Linked DNA regions of Homo sapiens: all the other regions are linked to region 3. The links are contacts of gene promoters, found by promoter capture Hi-C in blood cells and fetal thymus (Javierre and others, 2016). All regions are on one chromosome and are shown on one strand. The core of a region is centred on a gene start or on the middle of the fragment in contact, and the rest is flanking DNA. Distances in the headings are between cores, read along the strand shown. Region 1 has its middle 35 kb from the start of RNU6-1. Region 2 has its middle 15 kb from the start of RNU6-1. Region 3 holds the start of FEM1B (fem-1 homolog B). Region 4 overlaps CORO2B (coronin 2B).

The links. The method cuts DNA at HindIII sites, captures the fragments that hold promoters and counts their contacts. A CHiCAGO score of 5 or more calls a contact.
Region 1: a contact is called between a fragment that was not itself captured here and the fragment with the promoter of FEM1B in region 3, in 1 of 17 cell types (neutrophils). The highest score is 6.7, in neutrophils.
Region 2: a contact is called between a fragment that was not itself captured here and the fragment with the promoter of FEM1B in region 3, in 1 of 17 cell types (neutrophils). The highest score is 5.0, in neutrophils.
Region 4: a fragment that was not itself captured here is called in contact with the fragment with the promoter of FEM1B in region 3 in 1 of 17 cell types (endothelial precursors); the score reaches 5.5 in endothelial precursors.

What each region holds. Positions count from the first base shown.
Region 1 is chr15:67,873,571-67,876,755 of GRCh38, reverse strand. No RefSeq gene overlaps it. Among named protein-coding and RNA genes, the nearest start is that of RNU6-1, 35 kb to the right of the region's middle. The HindIII fragment of the contact is 3,151 bases long and covers 1-2,997 here.
Region 2 is chr15:67,853,122-67,856,251 of GRCh38, reverse strand. No RefSeq gene overlaps it. Among named protein-coding and RNA genes, the nearest start is that of RNU6-1, 15 kb to the right of the region's middle. RefSeq lists enhancers at 123-202, 2,300-2,855, 2,856-3,130. The HindIII fragment of the contact is 281 bases long and covers 1,718-1,998 here.
Region 3 is chr15:68,276,240-68,279,066 of GRCh38, reverse strand. FEM1B (fem-1 homolog B) reads right to left here and starts at 1,322. Exons shown (of 2, transcript NM_015322.5): 1 at 402-1,322. The coding sequence starts at 649. RefSeq lists enhancers at 483-682, 425-1,326 and a silencer at 713-1,042. The HindIII fragment of the contact is 2,784 bases long and covers 1-2,509 here.
Region 4 is chr15:68,665,134-68,668,016 of GRCh38, reverse strand. All of the region lies in intron 2 of CORO2B (coronin 2B), which reads right to left. It overlaps LOC124903514 (a long non-coding RNA gene), which reads right to left. Exons shown (of 2, transcript XR_007064691.1): 2 at 2,359-2,883. Among named protein-coding and RNA genes, the nearest start is that of CORO2B, 88 kb to the right of the region's middle. RefSeq lists a silencer at 1,293-1,587. The HindIII fragment of the contact is 1,941 bases long and covers 432-2,372 here.

The DNA.
Region 1 (3,185 bases), core at 173-2,672, 400 kb after region 3:
TTCACCTTACTTCTCCATAAAATGTTTAATATTCCACAAAAAAATGGTTATGGCCAGGAGAATGTGCCTTGTGTATGAATGTCATTCACCATGTAAGTTGCTGGGGTGAAAAGGGCCGATAAACAAAAGAAAATCAGCACATCATCAACAAATTCTAATAAAACTAGTAATAGAATCAGCTGCAATTCAAAATGGACACTAAAGAAGACCAAATCTGGACTTCTGAGTAACAGTATGTGTGATAAATTACATATTTATTCTGCTCTAAGTCCAAGATGTTTACCATACTGCTCCCAAGCAAAACAAGCAAAGAAACAAAAAATTATACTATCCCACATGGAGATGGATTGCTAAGGTACAGCTACAAAGAAATATGTATCCTAGAGGAACACTGATATTTTCGTTAGGTTACATGTTGCCCGATTAGATTAAGAATAAAGACGGCCGGGCGCAGTGGCTCACGCCTGTAATCCCAGCACTTTGGGAGGCCGAGGCGGGCAGATCATGAGGTGAGGTCAGGAGATCGAGATCATCCTGGCTAACACAGTGAAACCCCGTCTCTACTAAAAATACAAAAAATTAGCCACGCGTGGTGGCGGGCGCCTGTAGTCCCAGCTACTTGGAAGGCTGAGGCAGGAGAATGGCGTGAATCTGGGAGGCAGAGCTTGCAGTGAACCGAGATTGCGCCACTGCACTCCAGCCTGGGTGACGAGCGAGACTCCGTCTCAAAAAAAAAAAAAAAAAAAAAAATTATAATTGCGTGCAAGGCCCCTCACTTGTTTCCATCCATGTATTCATTCTTTTTTTTTTTTTTTTTTGAGATGGAGTCTCATTCTGTCACCCAGGCTGGAGTGAAGTGGTGTGATCTCAGCTCTCTGCAAACTCTGCCTCCTGGGTTCAAGCGATTCTCCTGCCTCAGCCTCCCGAGTAGCTGGGACTACAGGCATGTGCCACCATGCCCAGCTAATTTTTGTATTTTTAGTAGAGACAGGATTTCACCATGTTGGCCAGGATAGTCTCGAACTCCTGACCTCAGGTGATTCGACGCCTCGGCCTCCCAAAGTACTGAGATTACAGGCGTGAGCCCAGCCCATTCTCTTTTATATTCATATTACACACTCTCTCATATACCTTGGCAACCACTTTACTATGTTTACAGTAAATGTTTTTGTATTTTTGGAAAATATGTATTTCTTATGTTAATTTATTAAGGTATAATTTACATTCAGTAATAGCCAACCAATCTTTGACAAAGGAGCAAAGGCAATTCAATAGGAAAAGGTTAATCTTTTCAACAAATTGCTCTGGAATCACCATATGCAAAAAAAAAAAAAAAAAAAAAAAAGGATCCAGAAACAAACTTTAGACCTTTCACAAAAATTAATTCAAAATGGGTCATAGGCCTTAATATAAAATGCAGAGCTATAAAACTTCTAGAAGAAGAAAGGAGAAAGACTAGATGACTTTGGATTTGGCTATGAATTTTCAGATACAACACCAAAAGCATGATTCATGAAAGAAAAATTGATGTCAAACTTTATTAAAATTAATAACTTCTGCTCTGCACAAGACACTGTTAAGAGAATGAAAAAGTCACAGACCAGAGAAATTATTTATAAAACATGTATCTGATAAAGTACTTGTATCCAAAACATACAATGAACTCTTAAAACTCAACAAAAACAAAGAAACCAATTTTAAAATGGATCATCTGAACAGATATCTCAACAAATAAGATAAACAGATGGCAAATAAGCATTTAAAAATGTCTGGGTGGGGTTGGCTCACGTCTGTAATCTCAGCACTTTGGGAGGCCGAGGAGGATCACTTGAGCCCAGGAGTTTGAGACCCACCTGGGCAACAGAGCGAGTCCCCGTCTCTACAAAAAAGTTAAGAATTAGCTGGTGTGGTAGCAAACTCTTGTAGTCCCAGTTACTTGAGAGGCTGAGGCAGGAGGATCACTTGAGCCTGGGAGATCGAGGCTGCAGTGAGCTGTGATTGCACCAGTGCACTAACCTGGGCAACAGAGCAAGACTCTGTCAAACAGCAACAACAACAACAACAACAAAATGCTCAACATTATTTGTCATTAAGGAATTGCATATTAAAACAATGAGATATATACATCAGTATATATTTAACTTTATCGGAAATTGCCAAACCAATGTCCCATTTTGCATTTCCATCAGCAATATATAAGTGTTCTAGTTGCTCAGGATCCATCCCAGGGAAGAAAAAAGGAAAGGTAAAAAGAAAAAGAAATAAGAGCTTCAGTTGCTCTACATCCTCAGCTTGTATTGTCAAGATTTTAAAATTTGAGCATTTTGTGATGTTAATGGTATCTCATTGTGGTTTTAATATGCAATTCTCTATTGACTAATTATGTTGAGAATCTTTTTATGTGCTTATATCTTATTTGGCGAAGTAGCTTTAAATCTTTTGTTTTATATCTTATTTTTAAGTTAGTGTTTGTTTTATATCTTATTTGGTAAACAGCTCTAAATCTTTTGTTCAATTTTAAGTCAGTGTTTTTATTTATTATTGAGTTGGGAGGTTTCTGTATATATTCTGGATAGAATTTGGTATCACTGTCCAATCAAGAAATGGAAAACAGGTAAAGTTTAACATAAAGAAATAACAGGAGATTTGAGTAATGGGAAATCGACTCATAAGAGTTATAGAGAACTCTGATGAATGCAAGAATGGCAAATACAGGGAACAGCCGCTGCCAGCAGGATAGAGTGTCCAAGGAAGAACTCCAGACCCTGCTGGGGAGAGCACAGCATGGCATCCTGGGTGGTGGAGAAGACACTGAAGTGGCTCACAGTGTAATAGTGGAATCTTCCCTTTAGGGTACTAGGGGGTGTTGTCCACAGAGAAGTGCCATACCTTGAAACTTGCTGCAAATTCTTCAGGTGATGGGGTGCTGGGGGAAGCCGTTCATGGTCAGGTGCCTTGCCAGTGGCACACCACTTAGAGAAGATGCTGAGGGAAGCTTCTGTCAGCTGGGCACTGAAGGTTACCATGCACTGCCAGAACTGGGAGCTGGAGAAGCTGCCCTTTTCAGGAAAAGGGAAAGAGTAAGAGACAATTTCTTCCTCCTCCCATGCCTACTACTGGCTTAACATCATGTATCAAAGAAAAATATTTATTTAACCCACCTCCATTATCACAGAGCAGGTAAA
Region 2 (3,130 bases), core at 609-3,108, 420 kb after region 3:
GTGTTAGGATGTTCTTGCATTGTGTAAAGAAACACCTGAGACTGGGTAATTTATAAAGAAAAGAGGTTTAAATGGCTCATGGTTCTACAGAGTGTACAGGAAGCCTGGTGCTAGGCATCTGTTTGGCTTCTGGGAAGGTCTCAGGAAACTTTTACTCCTGGGAGATGGCAAAGGGAGAGCTGCTGTTTCACATGGCAGAGCACGAGCAAGAGAGAGCGTGGGGGAGGTGCCACACTTTACAACAACCAGATCTCATGAGAACTCACTATCTCCGGGAAAGCATCAAGGGATTTACCCCCATGACTCAAACACCTCCCACCAGACCCCACCTCCAACATTGGGGATTACATCTCAACATGAGATTTGGAGGGGAAGTCCAAACTATACTACATGGGTTCAAAAAAGTTTTTAAAAATCTTCAAGGTGTTGGCAGAATTAAAACAATAGGCTATATAGCTATATACTTTTCAAATTACAGAAGATAAAAACAAATCATCAGCCAGGTACAATGGTGCACCTGTACTCCTAGCTACTCAGGAAGCTGAGACTGGAGAATCATTTGAGACCAGGAGTTCAAGTCCAGCCTGGCAACATAGCGAGACCATGACTCTAAAAAAATACATCATCGGCTGGGCACGGTGGCTCATGCCTGTAATCCCAGCACTTTGGGAGGCTGAGGCAGGTGGATCACAAGGTCAGGAGTTCAAGACCAGCCTGGCCAAGATGGTGAAACCCTGTCTCTACTAAAAATACAAAAATTGCAGGGCGCGGTGGCAGGCGCCTGTAATCCCAGCTACTTAGGAGGCTGAGGCAGGAGAATCACTTGAATCCAGGAGGCGGAGGTTGCAGTGAGCTGAGATCGCGCCACTGCACTCCAGCCTGGGCAACATAGCGAGATTCTGTCTTAAAAAAAAAAAAAAAAAAGGGCCAGGCGCGGTGGCTCACGCTTGTAATCCCAGCACTTTGGGAGGCCGAGGTGGGCGGATCATCAGGTCAGGAGTTCGAGACCACCCTGGCCAACACAGTGAAACCCTGTCTCTACTAAAAATACAAAAATTAGCTGGGCATGGTGGTGGGCGCCTGTAATCCCAGCTACTTGGGAGGCTAAGGCAGGAGAATCGCTTGAACCCGGGAGGTGGAGGTTGCAGTGAGCCGAGATTGTGCTACTGCACTCCAGCCTGAGCAACAGAGCTAGACTCCATCTCAAAAAAAAAATAAATAAATAAAAAATACATCATCATGCAATTTTGCTTATCATAGAAGGCAAAAACAAAAACAAACATGAAAAAGAGAAGGCATAAACCAAAATAAAAGAAATAAAACCAAACATGCCAACATAAAAATAAACGCATGATACTAAAAGCCAAAGACCTTCAAACTGGGTTAATACGATTTAAGTACTACAAGGTATCTATATTACTGTGTATCAGATATTTTGAAATAAAACCGCACTCTTTCCATCTGTAGGGTCCCTGCATTAGGCGAGCGTGCCTTTTAGGCCACCTCCTCATCAGTCCTGCCCTGCTCCCTGCTCAGAGGTACTGAGTGCCACAGTGTCCCCACAGACACAGGCAGAGACAGTCTAACGGAAGGGGTGAGGGTGGACAGAAGTGACTGCCTCAGAAAACCATACTTGAGTGTTAGGAGTGTGCTGCCCATTTGCTGGTGAGTGCAGCCCTGTACAGTGAATGAGGGCCTAAGCTTCTCCCTGCAAGCTTCCTGTCTGCAGGTTCTGGGCCACTTTAGAGGGCAAAGTATGCACAGGCCACCTACCATGTGACTTCCCCCAGCCCCAGTGGCAGGTTATTAGGGAAATTTCCATCTTGGACTCTGGCCAACAACTGACCACTAAGTTTTCTGAATGGTTCTCAGTTTTTGTCTTTTTCTGTGTCTCAAGTAGCTTTCGAATTTAAGTTGGAAGATGGCACATCAAGGAAGTTTGATCTGTGGTCATCTTAACTCTTGAAATCCTCTTATCTGTCCTTTGTAACAGAAGCTTTAAAGAAAAAAATGTGTCTATTAAGGCCAGGTGTGGTGGCTCACACCTATAATCCCAACACTTTGGGAGGCCAAAGTGGGAGGATCACTTGAGGCCAGGAGGTTGATGTTATAGTGTCGCCTAGGCGACAGAGCAAGAACTTGTCTCTATAAATAAATAAATAAATAAATAAGATTTAAAATTCAGGTGCTGTGCCAGGTGCTGGTGATACAGGAGACAGAAAGAAATTATTCAGGCAGATCGTGAGGGTAAGAGTCCTCGGCAGAAATTCCCTTTCAACAAAAAGCAGCCCAAAATCATTGCTTTTCTAACAAAGAGCAGCCTGAAAAATCGAGCTGCAAACAGATAAGCAAGCTGGAAGCTTGCACGGGCGAATGCCAGCACCTGTGCCAATAGAAAAGGGTTACCTGAGGGCCAGGTATGTTCAATATGGAGGCTTCAACTTCCCTTTTGTCACCATGTGTACAGTAAAGGAACAGGCAACATGGTGCCAGCCAGGTAGAAAGCTCATCTGCATAATAAAAGATTAGGGTGGGGGTGGCCAGACTTTTACACACTATGCAAATAGCATACCTAGTCCTAACCACTTTTTCATGCCTTATGCAAATGGCACACCTGGTCCAAGCACTCTTTCGTGCTCTATGTAAATCAGACGCTACCTTCTCAAGCTCATCTATAAAACCCTGCATTTCACTGTGGACTGGAAACCTGCTCAGGACCCCTCTCCTTGTAGGAGAAAGGTTTTCTCTTTCTTTCGCCTTTTTTTTTTTTTTTTTTTGAGATGGAGTCTCACTTTGTCACCAGACTGAAGTGCAGTCGTGTGATCTCAGCTCACTACAACCTCCACCTCCCGTGTTCAAGTGATTCTCCTGCCTCAGCCTGTAGCTGGCACTACAGTCGTGCACCACCACACCCAGCTAATTTTTGTATTTTTAGTAGAGACGGGATTTCATCATGTTGGCCAGGATGGTTTCGATCTTTTTGACTTCGTGATCCACCCACCTTGGCTTCCCAAAGTGCTAGGATTACAAGTGTGAGCCACCATGCCTGGCCTCCTTCTATTAAACCTCCGCTCTCAACCTCACTCCTTGTGTGTCCATGTCCTTGATTTCCCTGGCATGAGACAATGAA
Region 3 (2,827 bases), core at 73-2,572:
TCGGAGTTCTTCAATGTTAACCGCTGACCTCCTTAATTTCTGATCAGTTACATCACCAGTTCCACTAAAAGTAAAACCTGGAAAGGCAGCCACCTCCTCCAAATGGCTTGTTCACAGACTATCTAGTAGAGAAGACGACTATTAGATTTCAAGGCCGAGGGTGTGGTTATCTTCCCACAGAGGGAATGAGGGGTAGGGGCTGATGAGGACGGGCAGCAAAACATGGGATGGATTATTAGCCCTGGAAGATGAAGTGGGCATTAGTGGGGCAGGAGGTGGTACAAAAAGGGGAGAAGTGAGTACCTACATGAAGAGAGGGTAAGAGAGGGTGAGGGAGGGGAGGGCCCGTGAATTAACGAGTCCGCGCGCGTCGGAGAGAGGCTGGCTTGGGATGTACCTACCCGTCGAAGCGGACGGTGCCAGTCTGCTGAGTCTGCACCCGGTAATGTTCTAAGAGCAAGCGTACCACCTTTGCGTGTCCATTGCGGGCTGCGATGATGAGGGGCGTGGAGCGCTGCCCTCCCTGCTGGCTGACATAGCCAAGCAGATAGCGGATGTCGCTTTCAGACCGGTTGAGAAGCAAGGCGGCCAGAGTCAGCACCTTGCCCTCGCTGGCCGCCTTGTATACATAGCCAGCCAGGCCCTCCATGGCCGCCGCCAACTCCAACACCCGTTTGGTCGCCACCGCTGCAGCTGCCGTGCGCCCCCGGAGGCCGCGTTCGCCAGCGCTTTAAACCTGGGCCCTCACAGCCCATTCAACAGGGCGCCGTCGCCGCCGCCGCGCCCAGGCAGCAGTGCGGCCCAGGGAAGGCGGAGACGCAGAGGAGGCCGAGTGCCGCGAAGGGCACGTCCGCGACCCAGCCCGCGCAGGGAGGAAGGCGGTCAGGGCCGCCCGCCAGGTCCCAGGCGCCGGCCCTGGACCGAGGGGATCTCCATGGCGGACGCCGCCCCGGGCCTCAGGCCGGACCCCTCCTTCCTGCGGGATGCGACAGGCGCGTGCCCGAGCTACGGGTCGCCGGCCGGGTCCCGAGAGGACCTCGCGCACCCCGGATGGCGAAAGATGGGCGCGTCTCTCCTGACCCGGCCCACCCGGCCTAAGGCCTAACACTGCCTCCTCCTGCGCTTTCCGCCCTTCGCCGTCCCTGACTGGAGGAAACCTGCAGGCTCTCGTCCGCCGAGCTCAGAAGTGCCAGGCGCTGCCAACGGCCCCGGAGATCCTCGCGTAGGGGCCCCCGGGGCGATGCGGAACGCTCCCGCAAGAGCGGCGCCGGAACTTGGGCGGGGAGGAAGACGAGCTTTCGCAGACAGGGCCGGGAGGAGAGGGCGGGAGCGGGAGGGACGCTAAGTGGGGTGTCTCCGCCTAAGCCGACCGGCGGGCACACGCGGGCCCGGTAGAGAAAGGTTCTGCTGCGCGTAGTTGGCCCATCCCGTTTGGGCCTGGATGTCCTCAATGTCCTTGACTCCTGGAACCTCCTCCTGGCCCCTAAACGGCCCTGAGGGTCTCCAGCCAGGGAGTGGGGGCGGAGTGAGGGCGCTAAGCTGATGGGCTAAGGAGACCACCCTATTTTACTATAGACGGTGCGGGTCCTGCTTCTGCCCCTGAGCCGGGGTTAGGGAAGGGGTTGCGCGTACTCGGAGGGTCCATTTCAGGAAAAGGGCGGCGTTTCTGAGTTCCCGAAATGTGGGAGGGCTTGAGAGCCACAACACCAGGCTCTGAGAAGGGACTGGAAGTACGGCCTGACTTTCCCGGAGAAAGGGGTTAAGTGTGAGAGAAAGATGGGAGCGAAGGGGAGCTGCGCTCGCGGTGGAAGGAGCGAGGTATCCTGGGAAGGAAAGCGAGTCCCGCGTTCAGACAGAGCAGGAATCTCATCCTGAGCCGGCAGAACCTCCGTTTTCTCACAGACATCACAAGATTGTTGTTAGGATTTGAAACGATCGTTTATCCAATGAATATTAGAGGTCGACTACGTGCCAGGCTCTGCTTAGCACTAGGGATTCAGTAATGGAACAAATAAGTCAACAAATGATAGACAAGATCAGTTGAACTGGTATCATTACCATTTGCTCTGAAGCAAATGAAATAGAATGATGGGGGCACTCATTTAGTTTGGGTGATCAGACAAGACCTCTATGACAAGTGACAAGAACAGACGGTATTCTAGGCAAAGGGGACAGCTAATATAAAAGTCCTGAGGAGGGAACAGTCTGGTGAGCTCGGAAACAGAAAGGTCAGTGTGGCTGCAGCAGAGTGGGCCACAGTAAGAATGATAGATGAAGTCAGAGGATGCAACACACGTTAGGGCCTAATAACCCATAGCAAAGGGTTTAAGTCTACTCTGTGATGGGGGCATTTGAAGGGTTTTAAAGAGGGAAGTGACAAGATGCTATTTGTGTTTTTTAAAAAGATCACTCTGGCTGCTGTATGGAGAATAAACTCTGGAAGGCAAGAGTAGATAGGGGGACAGGCCTTGGATTAGGATGGTAGGAGTGAATGGTAGGTGATGAAGCTTCTGGGACAGTCTCAAAAAACTCAATATGAAAGTGACTTCCTCCCTCTTCCTCCCTTCCCCAAAGGACAAAATTTACCATAGAGAAAGAACAAATGCATTTATGTGGCTCCAAGGGACTGGGCTCGGCTCAACAAGTTCACATACATTATTTTATTTGAACCCCACCATTCCAATTCTAGGAGGTAAAGGCCTCACTTCCATTGCAGCTATTGGTGGAGGTGTGGGTCACTTCTCAAATTCTCTCCATTCTACAGCTCAGCTTTACCCACTTATTGCAGATCCCTACAGAAACACGAGTTATTTTTCTCCTTACCATA
Region 4 (2,883 bases), core at 153-2,652, 390 kb before region 3:
ACGTGTTCAACAGGTGTGGGTGATTACTGTCATCATGACAACCCTGCCAGGTGGGATTTATTATCTCTCGTTTACAAATAAGAAATCCAAGGCTTTCGGGAGTAATAACTCATCTAGCAAATGGCTGGGTCAGGACTACAGGTCCCGAAGCCCATGGTCTTCACTGCCCCATATTCTATTTCCAGAGATGGAAGTAACTGGTCTGAAGTCTCTTTCCTTTCCAGCAACTCCCTCCACTAAAACATAGAACTAGCTCTTTCAGCATTCCTCCACATCCCCCCGCCCATCTTCAGTGCACTCTCCCATCTCACAGATGGGGAAACTGAGGCTGAGAAGGGGGAGGTAGTGAATAGAGAGGCCCAGTGCAAACCTGGCTTATCCACAGGGCCTCACCCGTCCCACTCCTCACGCAGGGTTTTAAATCCAAAGCTTTGCCATCAGGCAGATGTGGGGCTTTGGCCAAGACTCATCTGCACCCTGGGCCTCAAAAGATTTCTCTGTCCGAAAAGATCCCTGTCCAGTATTTGGGCTGAACTCTGGCTGTTGGGAATGGAAAAACGAATGGGTGTGTTTCCCAGCCTCAAGGAGCCCATCGCCTAGAAGCAGGAACAGGTGTGAAAACAGACCACGATACCCCTGCCTCAAACATGGCAAGGACATGGCAGGAAGCGGAGAGTCTGTTGGCAAAGCAGAGGAAGAAGCAGGATGGCTCCAGGTGGCTTCCTGGAGGCGGTGCCCTGAGCTGTGCAGAGAGGAGCATGAAGAAGGGCAGGCAGGTAGAAGAGACCGGGGCTGGCTCAAGGTCTGGTGAGGGCAGGTGAGTCAGGAAGGGGCAGAGTGGGCCAAGCCATGGAGCCAGGGTGGGGCAGGACTTCATCCAGAAAGGGAGGCCTTAGGGGTTTTTAGAGTAGGGGTGGGGGAGCATGAGAGTGAAGGGAGATCAGGAGCGGGGAGCCTGGGGAGAGGGAAGCCTAGGGCCTGTTTGTCGAGGGTCTTCTTTGCTCCTCACCTGTGCTGCAGCTGAGCCACAGATCCTCTCACTGCCCAGGAAGGAGCCCAGAGCCAAATCTCACCCAAGGGCATGCGGCAGGTTTCTGGCAATGCCTAGATTTGGCTGGTCTACGGCCATACCACCCTGAACACGCTGATCTCGCTGAACCCAAATCTGCCTGACTACAAAACCGTGTATTTTTATCATTTTTGGGGACTCAGTGCAGTGATTGCAATAGTGTAGATAAGAAAGGACAACATCAAGGCCCTGTCCAGCACATGGGCTTAGAGAGGCACAAAACTCCCTTGGCCCCTTCCCTGCCCATCCCCCAACACAACACCCCAACCCCCAGTGCCCACAGCCGCCCTGCTTTCTCCACCCTCGCTCTCCAGGAAGAGCTCATTCAGGGGAGGAGGGAAGCACCTGCTCAGGCCACTTCTCTTTCTTTGTCTGGGGCTCTGCCAGGAGGAGCCAGCAGGGAAGGAGTAGTAGACAGAAAGAAAGAGAAAGGAAATTCCCGCCAGCTGTCAGGAAAGAATGGTGTCCTGGAAGGCCACTCACCCACTCCCTGGGTCCTGTGGAGTTCAGAACACTGGGGACTGGGGGAGGCCTTCATCCTTTGCCTCCTCTCATCTGAGAATCACCCTACCCACCTTATGTCCTAAATCTGGGCTCTTCCCTACTTCTGACACCTCGTGACACCTTGGAAAGGGAACTAGCTGCCTGGGGCCTCACTTTCAGTATTTGCATATCTGAGCATCATCTGTTGACTTGCCATGTGCCAGGTTTTATGTCCGCTACCCAGAATGTTCCCAAAGAATTATCTGTTCGAGCCTCTTCTCTACCTCAAACAAATAGGACACTCAGCTTTGAGAAGTACAGCAAGCTGTTAATACCATTAATCTAGGTGGTGTTCACTGCTAAATGATTTAAACTTTGCAGTATGTTTGAAAGTTTAATAATAAAATGCTGGGGGGAAAATATTTCTCAACCCAAAATATGTAAAAGGTAAATACCTGATGCATTGCCATCAAAGTTAGGAACAAGAGGTTGCTATGATTTAACATTTTCCTGTAGGACCTGCCAATGCAATTAAAAAAAGAAAGATATACCAGAGGTATAAAAGCTATAAATGAAGAGGAGAATTATCACTACTTGCAAATGATAAAATAGTATCCCTAGAAACCTCAAGAGAAACCACTGAAAATTAGTATAAGCTATTTGTGAATTTAGTAACATGGCAAAATATTAACATACAGAAACTTATGGCTTTCTAGTATACAATCATCAATTAGCAAATATAATTTTAAAAGGATATATAATACAATAAAAAAGGTAAATACGTGTAACAAGAAATGAATAAGAGCTATGTGAAGAAGCTTTTAATACACCACAAAAGGACACAAAGGACTACAAAAAGTAAACTATGATCATGGATATTTAGACTCAACATCATAAGGTTGACATTCTCTTTAATTTATCAATTTAACATAATCCCAATAAAATATCAATATTTTCTATCTATATAAGCAGATCCTAAAATTATATATTAAAATATATAAGCTAGAAGAGCCAACTACGTTTGAGAAAAGACCACAATGAGTGGTGACTATCCCTGTTGATATTAAAACATATTATGAAGTCTTAGTAACACAGCATTGTGGTACTGGTACATGAATAACAAGACTATTAAGTAGAAAATAATGGACAGTCTGTAAAATAAACCCAAATACATTCAGAAATGTAGAATGCAGCAAAGCCTGAATCTCAAATCAGTAGGGGAAAGAAAGGATTACTCATTACCTGGAATTATTTCAACTGGATAGATACCTGGGGGAAAAAAAGTTAATCTATACCTCATTCTTTACACCAAGATAAGTTCAAAATGCACC